Regions from separate parts of the Homo sapiens genome. Here regions 2, 3 and 4 are each linked to region 1. Evidence: promoter capture Hi-C in 16 types of primary human blood cells and fetal thymus (Javierre and others, 2016). All regions are on one chromosome and are shown on one strand. Each heading gives the region's core, a stretch centred on a gene start or on the middle of the fragment in contact. The rest is flanking DNA. Distances are from core to core; before and after follow the strand shown. Region 1 holds the start of GOSR2 (golgi SNAP receptor complex member 2). Region 2 holds the start of MRPL10 (mitochondrial ribosomal protein L10). Region 3 overlaps KPNB1-DT (KPNB1 divergent transcript). Region 4 overlaps NPEPPS (aminopeptidase puromycin sensitive).

Region 1 (3,586 bases), core at 415-2,914:
CCCTTTCTTAGTAACATGAACATAATTTCGTTTCATTCTTTCTCTAAATTACTCACAGACTAGTTTTAAGTCCCTTCCTATAACGTTTATGTGAGAATAGGGCTCCCCAGTGTAAAAGAAAATTCTGTCATTACAAAGTAGGTTCTGTATTTTCGCCTGTCCAAATGAAACACCTCATCGCCAAAATAAAAGAAACCCATAAACTTAGAAAATGAAAGAGAAAGAGGATCATCACCCTCTTATTCCTCATGCTTCAGGGCATTTCATTTCCAGGCCTTGGGAGTGTGATTTTAAGTGTTTTAATCAACAAAACTACAGCATAAGTTTGAAAGTTCTCAATAGGATAGGTATATACCTCAAAAAATTGAGAAGAGAAACTAAAACAGATACTTCTACACCAGAGTTCATAGCAGTATTATTCTCAACAGCCCAATGGTGGAAACAACTCAAGTGTCCATCAACAGATGAATGGATAACAAAATGTGGTAGACACATAAAACGGAATATTATTCCGTCATAAAACAGAATGAAATTCTGGTAACAGGCTACAATATAGATGAACCCTGAAAACATTAAGTGAAATAAGCCAGATACAAAAGGACAAATTCTGTATGACTCCACTTATATTAAGTATCTAGAATAGGTAAACTCATAGAGAGAAGTAAAACAGAGGTTACTAGGTGTTCTGGAAGGAAGAAATGAAGTGCTACTGATTAACAGGCACACTGGGATGATGAAAAAGTTCTGGAAATGGATCGTAGTGATGTAAGTTGTGAATGTACTCAATGTCACTGAATTGTACACTTAAAAATTGTTAAAACAGTAAATCTTATGTTGTGTATATTTTACAATAAAAAATAAAAATCATAAAATTCCGTCCCTCCAAAACAGGGTAAAAATCATAATTCTGCCCCCCGCCCCCAAAAATAGGGTAAGTATGGCCCCATTAATACTCAACTACGTATCTCAGCAATTCCGAAAGTGCAGGACGATGCGAATAAAGGACACTACCAAGGAATTTAAGTTATGAGAAACTAAATTACAATTTGATTTTCTTAGCGATAACCTGTAACCAGATACGATTAACAAGTAATAATAGTGAATGCTACGTGGACAGCAATTTCTTTGTACCATAAAAATGTGGTCTTTAGTATAAATCGAATAAGAATACAAATACTTTCCCGTACGTGCCCTGACTCTCCAATTAAACAGTACACTCCTACGGCCAGGGGCCGTGTCTCCTACTCCGTGTCTCCTCTCGAGGTCTACCAACCAGGAGCACCGAGTTGACAAGTGCTGGACAAAGTTTTATAACCTGCAGGTGCCAGTTTCCCGTCACCCAGTCTACCCAGCAGGTAGTCACGAACTTGCAGACCCCAGGAGTCATCTGCCCCACGTCTCCAGGCCCCAGCCTGAACCCACTGTCTGTGGCTGACCTGGGAGTCCCGCCAAGGATTAAGCACTTCGGAGGCATCCCCAGCAGTGCCCTGGCGGAAAAACTCGGCCTCTACCCTGGCTGACGTCCGAGGCCTCAGCCCCAGAAGCCAGGCTCACCTGGCCTCGCCTCGTCTAGCCCCTGCCCGCTCCCCGACCGGCCCTCACTTGTGCGTTTGCTGGAACAGGGGATCCATGTCGCCGGCCCCGCAGGCCACGGCTCCGGCTCTGGCTTCCTCGGAACACGTCCTCACAGCCCCCCTTCCGGTTTCCGGCTTCCGGTCGCAGGACCCTCCCTCCCCTGCCGGCCAGGGCTGCCCGCACGCGCGCCTTACTAGCAGTGGTTGCGAGATCGGAGAAGGGGAAGGAGAAATGAGGCCGGCGACGGAAGGATAAGTGTAGTCACAGGCTCGGCTTCACGTGAAGGGCAAGGCGGTGTACATGTTCGCTGAAGGCTAGCCTCAGGATTCAGTCAGGCGTTAGGAAGGACAATCGCGGGATACTAACGAGAGGTCCTCAGAGCAAAGTTGAAGGCGAGCCGCTATCATCTGCTGTTCTCTGCCGCAGAGAGGACTGGAGGTTCTTGCTTGGCTTCACTTTAAACCATTTAATCGGGGGTCTGGAGATTTCGCTCTTCACTGTTTTTCCTGGCGCAAGCTTTTCCTGTTTCGCATTTGTCTACTCACTCTCCCGCCTATCTACCCCCCATTCCTATTTATCCATCCAGTAAACCTACATTGAATGAGTGGTTATTATGTGTCATGTGTAAAGTAGGGAAAACCGGGTTCCTCCTGCCCTCAAAGAGGTTCTGGTCTGGGAAAGGAAATAAGATATGTATACTCTCAAAAGACAAAATTACAAGAAATGTAGTTATAGATTTTTTTTCTTTATTTTATTATTTTTTATTATTATACTTTAAGTTCTAGGGTACATGTGCACAACGTGCAGGGTTGTTACATATGTATACATGTGCCATGTTGGTGTGCTGCACCCATTAACTCGTCATTTACATTAGGTATATCTCCTAATGCTATCCCTTCCCCCTCTCCCCACCCCACAACAGGCCCCGAAGTGTGATGTCCCCCTTCCTGTGTCCAAGTGTTCTCATCGTTCAGTTCCCACCTATGAGTGAGAACATGTAATGTTTGTTTTTTTGTCCTTGCGATAGTTTGCTGAGAATGTTGGTTTCCAGCTTCATCCGTGTCCCTACAAAGGACATGAACTCATCATTTTTTATGGCTGCATAGTATTCCATGGTGTATATATGCCACATTTTCTTAATCCAGTCTGTCATTGTTGGACATTTGGGTTGGTTCCAGGTCTTTGCTATTGTGAATAGTGCTGCAATAAACATACATGTAAATGTGTCTTTATAGCAGCATGATTTATAATCCTTTGGGTATATACCCAGTAATGGGATGGCTGGGTCAAATGGTATTTCTAGTTCTAGATCCCTGAGAAATCTCCACACTGTCTTCCACAATGGTTGAACCAGTTAACAGTCCCACCAACAGTGTAAAAGTGTTCTTATTTCTCCACATCCTCTCCAGCAGCTGTTGTTTCCTGACTTTTTAATGGTCGCCATTCTAACTGGTGTGAGATGGTATCTCATTGTGGTTTTGATTTGCATTTCTCTGATGGCCAGTGATGATGAGCATTTTTTCATGTGTCTGTTGGCTGCATAAATGTCTTCTTTTGAGAAGTGTCTGTTCATATCCTTCGCCCACTTGTTGATGGGGTTGTTTGTTTTTTTCTTGTAAATTTGTTTGAGTTCATTGTAGATTCTGGATATTAGCTCTTTGTCAGATGAGTAGATTGCAAAAATTTTCTCCCATTCTGTAGGTTGCCTGTTCACTCTGATGGTAGTTTCTTTTGCTGTGCAGAAGCTCTTTAGTTTAATTAGATCCCATTTGTCAATTTTGGCTTTCGTTGTCATTGCTTTTGGTGTTTTAGACATGAAGTCCTTGCCCATGCCTATGTCCTGAATGGTATTGCCTAGGTTTTCTTCTAGGGTTTTTATGGTTTTAGGTCTAACATGTAAGTCTTTAATCCATCTTGAATTGATTTTTGTATAAGGTGTAAGGAAGGGATCCAGTTTCAGCTTTCTACATATGGCTAGCTAGTTTTCCCAGCACCATTTCAAAAACGATGG
Region 2 (3,586 bases), core at 369-2,868, 910 kb before region 1:
CATTTCAAGCAGAAGGAATAGTACATGCTAATACAGCCCTTCCGAAACTCCAATATGCCCATGCAGATTCTAATTCAGTAGATCGGGTGGAGGGGCTGAGATGCTCCACTTCTAACAAGCCCCCTGTGATGCCAATGCTGCTGTCCTACCCCTGCACCCCCTCCCATCCACACATACTCTGAGTAGTAAGGTACTAAGGTGTGAGTACACAGTGTGGGAAATTGTACACTTGTGGAGAGTGGCCAGAAATAAGGCTGAAAAGCAGAAGTCAACTCATGCTTAGGCATTGGGATTTATTTGGGAGGAAGTTTCTATCAGTGAATGCCTGATTAGATTTGTTATTTAAAAGGATCACTTTGGCTACTCAGGAGGCTGAAGTGGGAGGATTGTTTGAGGAGTTCAAGACCAGTCTGGCCAACAGAGCAAGACCCCATCTCTAAAAAAGTAATTAAAAATACTTTACTTTTTGTTTGTTTTAGAAATAGGGTCTCACCCTGTTGCCCAGGCTGGCATGCAATGGCATGATCATAGCTTACTGCAGCCACAGGTACCTGGGTTCAAGTGATCCTCCTGTCTCAGCCACCTAGGACTACAGGTGTGCACCACCATGCTCAGCTAGTTTATTTTTATTTTTTAGAGATAGGATTCTGTCTCTATTGCCCAGGCTGGTCTCAAACTCCTGGGCTCAAGTGATCCTCCTGCCTCAGCCTCCCAAAGTGGTGGGTGTGTAGGAGAGAGGTGAACACGGCCTTATCTAAGACAGTTGAGTGAGGATGGTGAAAAAGAAATGGAATTATTTTGAAGAAGGGAAAATCAGCTGGGCATTACCACTGATTGAATGTGTGGAGTAAGGAGAGAAACAAAGATCAGTTGACAAATCAGTACACGTCAGGGACCTGGTCATCCTGAGTGTTTCAGCCTTCTAGCACCCCTTTTCTCCCCCATGCACTCACATCTTCTCTGACAGTTCCCCATCTTCAGGGAAAGTCAAGTTCCGCTTAGTGATAAGGGCTTCAGTGATGCAGACGCCCCCTTCCTCTGGACCCTGGGCTGACTTCCCTGTGAAAAGATGAGTCCAACTGTGACACTTCCTCACTCTTGGAGGCCTTACCCCGCTGTTTTCCAACTGCTCTACCCACCGTCCCACCTCCCTACTCACCTCCAGACATGATCTAAAATAAAAGGCTGCTGGTCTGAGGCGGGAGAGGAACGAAAAGAGAGGTCTTGGCGGCCCCTAAGGATGGCAGAACTCAGGATGGCAGGAGGAGAGAGAAACTCAGAGACTTAGGAGAGGAGGAAAGGGGGTTGATTCAGAGAAAATTGCTGGGGTGAGGTCGAAGAAAACAGTAAATTGATGTGAAGGGTCTGGAGTTTGAGGGGTGTGGAGGGGCTTTGCTGGCAGCAAGCTGGGGTGTTGTGGGCAGGAATGGTTGAGAAAGGAGCAGTTCCTAGGAAGCCGGAGTCGTTGCTAAGAGACTGGACGCCGAGTGGGGAGGTAAAGGCGGGCTCCGTTGGCCCGGCCTAGCGCATGCGTCTTACGGCTACAGCCGGCGGGTACGCCCACTGCTTCCGGCCCCGGGGTTCGCTACCCCACAATCCTTAGCTCTTTCCGTCTCCACTCGGCTTCCGTCCATTCTTCCGGTGGAGATGGCTGCGGCCGTGGCGGGGATGCTGCGAGGGGGTCTCCTGCCCCAGGCGGGTAAGGAGTGGCCCAGGTCCTCACGGCGTGTCTTGCGGCCGCTCTCTAGTCCTCATCTGCCCTCCTCTACTACTGATTCTTCCCATAATCTCTGACCCCAGCTAGATCGCTGGCCTCCTTACCCCGTCCAGTTCCTTGTGACTCGACTGGTAATCACAGCAACAACGTCCAGATGTTGTCTGTCTCCAGCGTTTCTTTTGCCTGGACCACTCCTCGCCCAGACCTTTGCATTATGTCTCCATCTTAATGTGTCAGTCTAAATGTCACCTCAGGTCTTCCCTTGACTCCTTAGCCCCGTCGCAATCTGTAATTTTGCATTTGTTTAGTTGCTTGTTTCCTCTATTAAACTCCGCAAGGGCAGAACCATGTTCATTCAGCATAGCCAGCAGGTGGCATGGTGCTGGATGTTAGTAAGCGTGCGGTAGATATTTGTTTAGTGAATGGATTTGAGCACTTAATATAGGCCAGGCACTGTGATAACTATTTTTATATGTGTTAGCTCATTTAAATCTTTTAAATCATTTAAATCTAAAGCACCCTGTGAGAAAGACATTCGCATCTCCTCTTTACAGACGCAGCAACTGAAGTTCAGACCAGTTGGGTGGCCAAGGTCACAGCTAGTAATTGGCGGAAGAGAGATTAAAATCCAGTTTCGGCTGGGCGCGGTGGCTCACGCTTGTAATCCCAGCACTTTGGGAGGCTGAGGCGGAGGGAACACCTGAGGTCAAGAATTTGAGACCAGCTTGGCCAACATGGCGAAACCCCAACTCTACTAAAAATACAAAAATGAGCCGGGTGTGGTGGCGCGTGCCTGTAGTCCCCGCTACTCAGGAGGCTGAGGCGTGAGAATCGCTTACACCCAGGAGGCAGAGGTTGCAGTGGGCCGAGATCGCATTGCTGCACTCCAGCCTGGGCAACAGAGCGAGACTCCATCTCAAAAAAAAAAAAAATCCAGTTTAATTTGATTCCAAAGCCTGCCTGCAGTCTTAACAGTTAGGTTTTGTGGCTGCTGGCAATAAGACCTCTTACCCCAGCAAATATCCATACTCTCTGACTGTTAGAGCCGCCTTCTATCTGGACCTTTTTCTGAGGTCACATCCCAGTCTTGGAAATGACTGAAAGTGGGAAGTTCTAGTCTTGGCCCTTGTGTTGAGGATTAAGTGGTCACTTTGTCTCAGGGCTTTTGAGTGCCTCCCTTGTTTTCTGTGGGGTGCTCTGTAGCATTATCTGTAAACAGGAAGAGAGGAGGAAAGAGAAACTTGTCTGAGAGCTGTGAGAATGGTGTAACATTTTTTTCTCCTCTTCAAATCATAGGACAGGGTGTCAGAGCAGCGGTTAGAGTGGTGGTTTTCAAACTTTAGCATGCGTCAGCATCACCAGGAGGGCTTGTTAGAACACTATTTGTGACCCGTCTTGGTAACATAGTGAAACCTGGTCTCTACAAAACAAAACAAACAAAAAACACTATTTGCTAGGCTCCACCCCAGAATTGCTGATTCAGTAGGTCTAGGCAGGGCCTGAGAATTTATGTTTATTTTTCTTTCTTTCTTTCTTTTTTTTTTTTTGAGACAGTCTTGCTCTGTCACCCAGGCCGGAGTGCCGGAGTGCAATGGCACAATCTCGGCTCACTGCAACCTCTGCCTCTTGGGTTCAAGCAATTCTCATGGCTCAGCCACCTGAGTAGCTGGGACTACAGGTGTGTGCCACCACGCCTGGCTAATTTTTGTAGTTTAGTTAGAGACGGGGTTTCACCATGTTGGCCAGGTTGGTCTTGAATTCCTGACCTCAAGTGAGCTGCCCACCTTGGCCTCCCAAAGTGTTGGGATTACAGGCGTGAGCCACCACACCCAGCAAAATTTCTAACAAGCTCTCAAATGATGCTGATGT
Region 3 (3,586 bases), core at 348-2,847, 720 kb before region 1:
ACTGCGCCCAGATGCTTTCTTCTTTCTCAGATTATCAAAGAAATATATGTTCCTCACTGTAGGAATTTTGAAAAGGAATTCCGCAGAAACCACCTGCAACCTCAAATTATATCCACCATTAAAATATTGGCATATTTTCCCCAAAATGGTTCTATTTTAAATGGAAACCAAAATATTCCTATGTATCATTTCTTGTTGACTCCAAAAAATGTACTTTTAATGATTTTATTTATTTATTTATTTATTGAGACTGGATCTTGCTCTGTTGCCCAGGCTGAAATGCAATGGCATGATCTTGGCTCACTGCAGCCTCAACCTCCCGGGCTCAAACAGTCCTCCTCCCTTAGCCTCCCAAAAAGCTGGGACTACAGGTGTGAGCCACTGCACCTGGCTAATTTTGTTCATTTTTTTGTAGAGACAGGGTCTCCCTATGTTGCCCAGACAGGTCTTAAACTCCTGGACTCAAGTGATCCTCCTGCCTCTGCCTCCCAAGATGCTGGGATTATAGACATGAGCCACCTTGCTCCGCCCTTTTAAGAATTTTAAATTGACTCAACTCTTTATCAAGTTGCATTGAAAAGATAATATGAATTAAACATATGTGAACTGGCCCCAGTACATTTTCACACTGGTAGTGCAATGCAGAAGTGAAGCCTTTTAACTTTGACTTAACCTTTAAAAAAGGTACCTACTGATAGAATAAGCTAAAAGTTGCAAATCGTTGAAGTATGTCCACTGGGTCCCAAAACTGGAAGTTCACTGAGGCCTGTCTTCCTGGCCAGGTGTCACAGGGAATCCTGTACTCTGGCCCAGGGCTATTCTATCTTTTCTGTTTTTTTTTTTATATGTATAATTGCATAATGCTCTATTTTGATTGTCTGCCTTGTACAATTTGTATGTATGCATGTATCTTTTGTCCTGAGTTAGACTATGACTCAGGGTTTCTCAACCTTGATTATTTTGGACAACATAATTCTTTTTTTTGTGGGTGTTGGGGGGCGGTGGTGGCAGAGAGCAGAGTCTCACTCTTGTTCAGACTGGAGTGCCATGGCGTGATCTTGGCTCACTGTGACCTCTGCCTCCCAGTAGCTGGGTAACCTCCTGAGTAGCTGGGATTACAGGCATGCACCACCACACATGGCTAATTTTTGTATTTTTTGTAGAGACGGGGTTTTGCTGTGTTGCCCAGGCTTGTATCGAACTCCTGGCCTCAAGTGATCCACCCGCTTCGGTTTCCCAAAGTGCTGGGATTATAGGCATGAGCCACTGTGCCTGCCCTCACATAATTACCTTTGGGGAAGCTGTCCTGTTCATTTCAGAATGTTTAGCAGCATTTCTGGCCCCTGCCTACTAAGTTCCACTGGCTCGTCTCCCACCAAGTCATGGTGGGACAATCAAAAATGTCTCCAGATGTTACAGAATAACTCCTAGGAAGGGAGTGAATCCCTGCTAAATCCTCCCCACAATTGAGAACCACATTTATAGCTCCTCAAGGTTAGAAGCCATGTCATATAAATTCCTGTGTTTCCTGCCTAGCACATAGTAAGCATTTTTATTGTCCAAACAATATCATTGCTTCATGAAAATAATAGCTTTTTTTTTTTTTTTTGAGACCGACTTTCGCTCTTGTTTCCCGGGCTGGAGTGCAATGGCACGATCTTGGCTCACCGCAACCTCCGCCTCCTGCGTTCAAGCGGTTCTTCTGCCTCAGCCTCCCGAGTAGCTGAGATTACAGGCATGTGCCACCATGCCCAGCTAATTTTTTTGTGTTTTTAGTAGAGACGCGGTTTCTCCATGTTGGTCAGGCTGGTCTCGAACTCCTGACCTCAGGTGATCCACCTGCCTCGGCCTCCCAAAGTGCTGGGATTACAGGCGTGAGCCACTGCACACGGCCCTTTTTTTTTTTTTTTTTTTTTTTTTGAGACAGCATCTTGCTCTGTCACCCAGGCTGGAGTGCAGTGATGTGATCCCACTGTAGCCTTGAACTTCCCGCTTAAGTGATCCTCCCACCTCAGCCTCCTCAGTAGCTGGGACTACAGGTGTGTGCCACCACACCTGGCTAATTTTTGGGGTGTGTTGGGGGGTATTTTTTGTAGAAATGGGGTTTTGTCATGTTGCCCGGGCTGGTCTCAAACTCCTGGGCTTAAGTGAACCTCCCACCTCCCAAAGTGCTAGTATTATAGGTATGAGCCACTGCACCCAGCCTGATGTTTTTAAAACACTTACTCTTTGTATTGTTCAAGGCTCTTTACATATAGTAACTCATTTAATCCTCCCAGCAACCCTCCAAAATAGGTACTCCTATTGTGCCTTTTTTACAGTCAAGAAACTAAGGCTTGGCCAGGTGCGGTGGCTCATGCCTGTAATCCCAGCACTTTGGGAGGCCGAGGCGGCGAGGCGGGTGGATCATGAGGTCAGGAGTTCAAGACCAGCCTGGCCAAGACGATGAAACCCCGTCTCTACGAGAAAATACAAAAAAATTAGCCGGGCATGGTGGTGGACACCTGTAATCCCAGCTACTCGGGAGGCTGAGGCAGGAGAATTGCTTGAACCAAGGAGGTGGAGGTTGCAGTGAGCCAAGATCGCGCCACTGCACTCCAGCCTGGGCGACAGAACGAGACTCCCTCTCAAAAAAAAGACAAAAAACGAAAAAGGAAACTAAGGCTCAAAGAGTTTAGGTTAGTTGCTTAAGGTCACCCAGCTGAGAGAAGTGACACCTGGGATCTGAATACTACTAGCCCAGGTAGTCTGGCTACAGATTCTGGGCTGTCAACCATTTTGCTGTATACTGCTTCTAAATACAAAGAAAAGAATTAACTCATGACAGTGCTTTCAAAAAGCCTCATGTTATCCATCTGCCCACAAAATTTGCATAGACAAACATATGGTAAAAATAAAATTTCCTGGCCAGGCACAGTGGCTCACGCCTGTAATCCTAGCACTTTGGGAGGCTGAGGCGGGTGGATCACCTGAGGTCGGGAATTCAAGACCATCCTGACCAACATGGAAAAACCCCGACTCTATTAAAAATACAAAATTAGCTGGGCATGGTGTTGCATGCCTGTAATCCCAGCTACTTGGGAGGCTGAGGCAGAAAAATCGCTTGAACCTGGGAGGTGGAGGTTGTGGTGACCCAAGATTGCGCCATTGCTTCCAGCCTGGGCAACAAGAGTGAAACTCCATCTCAAAAAAAATAAAAAATAAAAATAAATAAATAAAATTTCCTATTCTGCCACAAAACATGATACAGTATAGCAAAGCATGTTGCTGTGTTGCTGAAATTTTCTAAGTTTGAATGGCTGCATCCTAGTCTATCAAGAGGATAAACAATAAACTAATGTAACCAGTCCCTTGTTATTGGGCATATGGGTTGTTGCTGATATTTATTTGAAACATAACTGTTTTTGAAATATAATTTACATGCAGAAAGTGCACCAATTTTAAGAGTACAGTTTGGTAAGTTTTGACAGATGTATAAACCTGTGCTACCACTACCACAGTCAAGATACTGACCATCGGATCACCTTTGTTCCTTTCTGTGGTAATGTGCTGGAGCTAGCTAGTACCAGCTCAGGAGAGCCAAATA
Region 4 (3,586 bases), core at 392-2,891, 700 kb before region 1:
AGTCTCTGAGAGAGTTTTGAGAATGTAGAACTGATTTAGAATGAATCTCAGGATTTTTCTGTTAAGATCTATAAATTAGGAATTAAGGAACTGGATTTTTTTTGAATTTGAAAAATCCTATGATAGTATAACTTTGCATAAGCCTACTGAATGATAGGAAAGTTTTTAGTTTCTTATCAAAGAAAGAGAATAAAGTGAATCAGGACATCAGTTTCACATTGACATTTTTATTAACGCCAACTGTTTTTTAATTATTTTTTTAAAACAATAGCACAAAAATGTTTCAAGGAAGCAGTCTCACAATCTGATGACCTTCTGAAATACCGTTAAGCCACACCAAATATGAATTTCTGTTAATAACACAAAATATTTTTTTAAGAAAAAAAGAAAAAAAAGGTAGGGAAAGAAGAAGGGAATGAGATTTAGATTTAAAACTCATTGGATTAAATAGGTGAGGCTTATTAGGATATACTGTTGAAGCAAACAGTGGCACACACAGGCTTACAGTCTTTGTTTTTTAAACCAGTTACCACTAATGTATTAAGCCCTGCAGCAGTTACCACTGACTTCTCGCACGCATAAAATGAACCGGGAGAAGCCAGTGTTGATACTGTTGTGAAGAGGTTCAAGAGCTGGCTTTTCAGACAACTAAGACCATTTTTAGCAGAATAACTCCTTCAGAAAGGCCTGGCTGAAGATCTTTTTATTTCTATTGTCTCACCTATATAAATTTCAGGGTTCTTATAAGTCATCTTTAAAAAGAAAAAAATAATGTATATCAGTTTCTCTTATTTAATGTGGCTATGAAAGATGTTTCCTTATTATTTCTTCATCTCTAAGAAGGACACCAGGGAATGGGGGTTGGGGGTGGAACTAAAGGGAGGAAAAAAACCAGAACAGGGTAGGTTTTTGTTTTTTGCTTTTTGTTTTTTTTTGGCCAAGGGGTCGGTCACACAGAAGGGAAGGCAAGGAGGAAAACTAAACTACAATCCTTGGTTCAGATTGAGTTATGCAGGAATATATCTTCCTGATCAGTCCCCGTGCCAAAAAAAAAAAAAGCCACTTGGAATTATGCACTGACTCCAACTATGTGATACCAGCTATCAGCCTTTTGTGTTTAACCATTCCCAGAAATGGACACCACCCTTGGCTTTATAGGCTCCTTGCAGAACCCACTTCACAAAAATGCTCTTCACCAAGAAGCCTCTAGTTTCCTTTTGGTAGGTTATAAAAACAGAACATCTGTCATTAACAGTAGAGTGTTAAATACTTTTAACCACTGACAAGGCTTCAGAAAGTTTCACAGTTTCGTTATGCTCTATTTTATTACTATCATATTTACATTTTTATTTTTTATTTATTTTTTGCTGAATTGCTGATTTTCCTTTTTCAATAGAATTTAATTCTGGAGTGTGAGCAGGAACCAGTTAACTACATTCATTGTCCAACCCCCACTGGTTTGAAAGAAGACTCCAAATTCTTGGCATATGAATCAGCTGTTCGGTAGCTCCACCTTATCCCTGCAGCGAAGCAGCAGAACCGCCAATGGCGGCACCTCAGGATTCACACTGTGGGTGGTGAGGCCTTCCGCTGAAGGAGGTACTGGTGGATGCTCTCAGCATCTCGCTTTAGCCAGGCAGCATTCAGCAGAATATTTTCACAACACTGCTGGATGGTACGCTCAGCTGAAGGAGCTGGGTGACTCTCGAAGAAAGCCTGGTATAAAACAACCCAGAATGCAGGATCATTACTAGCAATAAGAAGTTAATATTACAGGTTATGAAAAAATACCCACTGGTCTATATGAAGGATGCATAATCTTCAGGCATGAGAATTTACCACTGCCACCCTCAGGCTAAAAGAAAACAAGCAACTCCTTGGACCTGCATATAGGAATTCTCCCCTTAATTATATGCTTAACAACCTAATCAAAAGTTAATAAAGAGACAGAACCTACTGCCTTTCTTTTAGGCTAATTGTGTAGTGGTAAATATAGTCTTTGGAATGAAGACTTGGAACCTGAATCCAGGCTTAGTCATGTACTAGCTTGTGACTGTGAGAAAATTAACTGCTCTAAGTCTCAGTTTTCTCAACTATGAGAAAATATCTACTCCAGAAGATTAAAGAGACAATCCATATAAACATTTGACAAAATACCTAGCACAGAGTACTTAAGGATTCAACACATTTTGGCTGCTTCAAATAAAGATTAATTTGTAAGGGATGATAATACAAAGAAGTTTAAATTGCTGCTATGCCCTAATAATTTAACACCCCATGGTCTTTTTTTTTTTTTTTTTTTTGAGACAGGGTCTCACTCTGTTGCCCAGGCTAGAGTGCAATGAAACGATCATGGCTCATCACAGCCTCAACCTTCTGGGCTCAAGTAAACCTCCCACCTTAACTTCCTGGGTAGCTGGGACCACAAGCGTGCACTCCCAGGCCAAATTGTTTTTTCCTTTTTGTAGAGATGGGGTCCTACCATGTTGCCCAGACTGGTCTTGAACTCTTGAACTCAAGCAATCCTCCCACCTCAGCCTCCCAAAATGCTGGAATTACAGGAATCCAACATTTTTAATACAGTAAACCAAACAATTTCTAAGTTTACAATTTATCACAATGCTTAATGATTAAAAGTTGAATAAACTTTTCTAATGCAGTACACCTGGTTTCACAGAAAACAAAGCAACTCTTAAACACCAGCTGGCAAAATGATAGGGCTTTTCCTTTGAATTAGTCACCACAGGTGTGAAAGACAGAATGACTAATCCATCTGATTAAACATAGACCTTTTAGAAATCAATAACCTTATTTACACAGATGACAATTGCTACTGTTCCAAGGCTCCTAATCATGGTTCAGTTCTCAGGGCCTCAAGTCTTTTTCCATTCCATCGCAGAGTAGTACCAACATTTATACACCAGAAACCTGGGGATTATCCTGGCTTGTTTTTCTTCCTCTCCCAGATATGCTCACAACAGAGAAGCCAATCAATAAATATTGTTGAACTAAATGGTTAACAAATTCAAGCCCCTGAATCTCCATTATTCCATCTCCTCCACTACTGCCACTACCCTACTGTAAGCTATTCTATCATTCTTGCTAGGAGAGTTAGCTTCCCAACATCTTCTCTTCCCCATTCCAAACTATTATCCACATTGCAGCCAGACTGAAATTTTTATAACACAAATCAGATCAAGGCACTGCCTTGTTTATAAACCATTCGAAGGCTTTCCATTTTTAGGACTTTTTTTTTTTTTTTTTTTTTTGAGACAGGAGTCTCGCTCTGTCACCCAGGCTGGAGTGCAATGGCACGATCTCAGCTCACTGCAACCTCCACCTCCCGGGCTCAAGCAATTCTCCTGCCTCAGCCTCCCGAGTAGCTGGGATTAGAGGCGTGCACCACCATGTCCAGCTAATTTGGGGTTTCACCATGTTGCCCGGGCTGGTCTTGAAGTCCTGACCTCAGGTGATCCACCCACCTCGGCCTCCCAAAGTGCTGAGATTACAGATGTGAGCTACCATGCCTGGCCATTTTTAGGAAATTCTTAATATGGCCTATACAGCCCTGCATGATGTCTTTCTC

The links. Contacts are between HindIII fragments. The CHiCAGO score rates a contact against its expected background, and 5 or more counts as called.
Region 2: a contact is called between the fragment with the promoter of MRPL10 here and the fragment with the promoter of GOSR2 in region 1, in 4 of 17 cell types (total CD4 T cells, total B cells, erythroblasts and 1 more). The highest score is 7.0, in total CD4 T cells.
Region 3: a fragment that was not itself captured here is called in contact with the fragment with the promoter of GOSR2 in region 1 in 1 of 17 cell types (naive B cells); the score reaches 6.0 in naive B cells.
Region 4: a fragment that was not itself captured here is called in contact with the fragment with the promoter of GOSR2 in region 1 in 3 of 17 cell types (naive B cells, naive CD4 T cells and total B cells); the score reaches 9.4 in naive B cells.

The regions. Positions count from the first base shown.
Region 1 is chr17:46,921,238-46,924,823 of GRCh38, reverse strand. It overlaps GOSR2 (golgi SNAP receptor complex member 2), which reads right to left and starts at 1,664. Exons shown (of 6, transcript NM_004287.5): 1 at 1,603-1,664. The coding sequence starts at 1,631. It overlaps GOSR2-DT (GOSR2 divergent transcript), which reads left to right and starts at 1,953. Exons shown (of 3, transcript NR_186460.1): 1 at 1,953-2,013. It also overlaps a transcript of LRRC37A2 not described here and the pseudogene RNU6ATAC3P. RefSeq lists an enhancer at 964-1,688. The HindIII fragment of the contact is 7,846 bases long and covers 1-2,093 here.
Region 2 is chr17:47,829,573-47,833,158 of GRCh38, reverse strand. MRPL10 (mitochondrial ribosomal protein L10) reads left to right here and starts at 1,618. Exons shown (of 5, transcript NM_145255.4): 1 at 1,618-1,699. The coding sequence starts at 1,648. It overlaps LRRC46 (leucine rich repeat containing 46), which reads right to left and starts at 1,489. Exons shown (of 8, transcript NM_033413.4): 1 at 1,160-1,489; 2 at 954-1,059. The coding sequence starts at 1,169. RefSeq lists silencers at 1,453-1,612, 1,853-1,912 and enhancers at 1,375-2,204, 2,205-3,036. The HindIII fragment of the contact is 9,003 bases long and covers 1-3,586 here.
Region 3 is chr17:47,640,678-47,644,263 of GRCh38, reverse strand. All of the region lies in intron 1 of KPNB1-DT (KPNB1 divergent transcript), which reads left to right. Among named protein-coding and RNA genes, the nearest start is that of KPNB1-DT, 7.0 kb to the left of the region's middle. The HindIII fragment of the contact is 5,052 bases long and covers 1-3,586 here.
Region 4 is chr17:47,619,898-47,623,483 of GRCh38, reverse strand. It overlaps NPEPPS (aminopeptidase puromycin sensitive), which reads right to left. Exons shown (of 23, transcript NM_006310.4): 23 at 208-1,716. The coding sequence ends at 1,564. KPNB1-DT (KPNB1 divergent transcript) reads left to right here. Exons shown (of 4, transcript NR_171700.1): 4 at 1,397-1,957. Among named protein-coding and RNA genes, the nearest start is that of KPNB1-DT, 28 kb to the left of the region's middle. The HindIII fragment of the contact is 6,563 bases long and covers 1-3,586 here.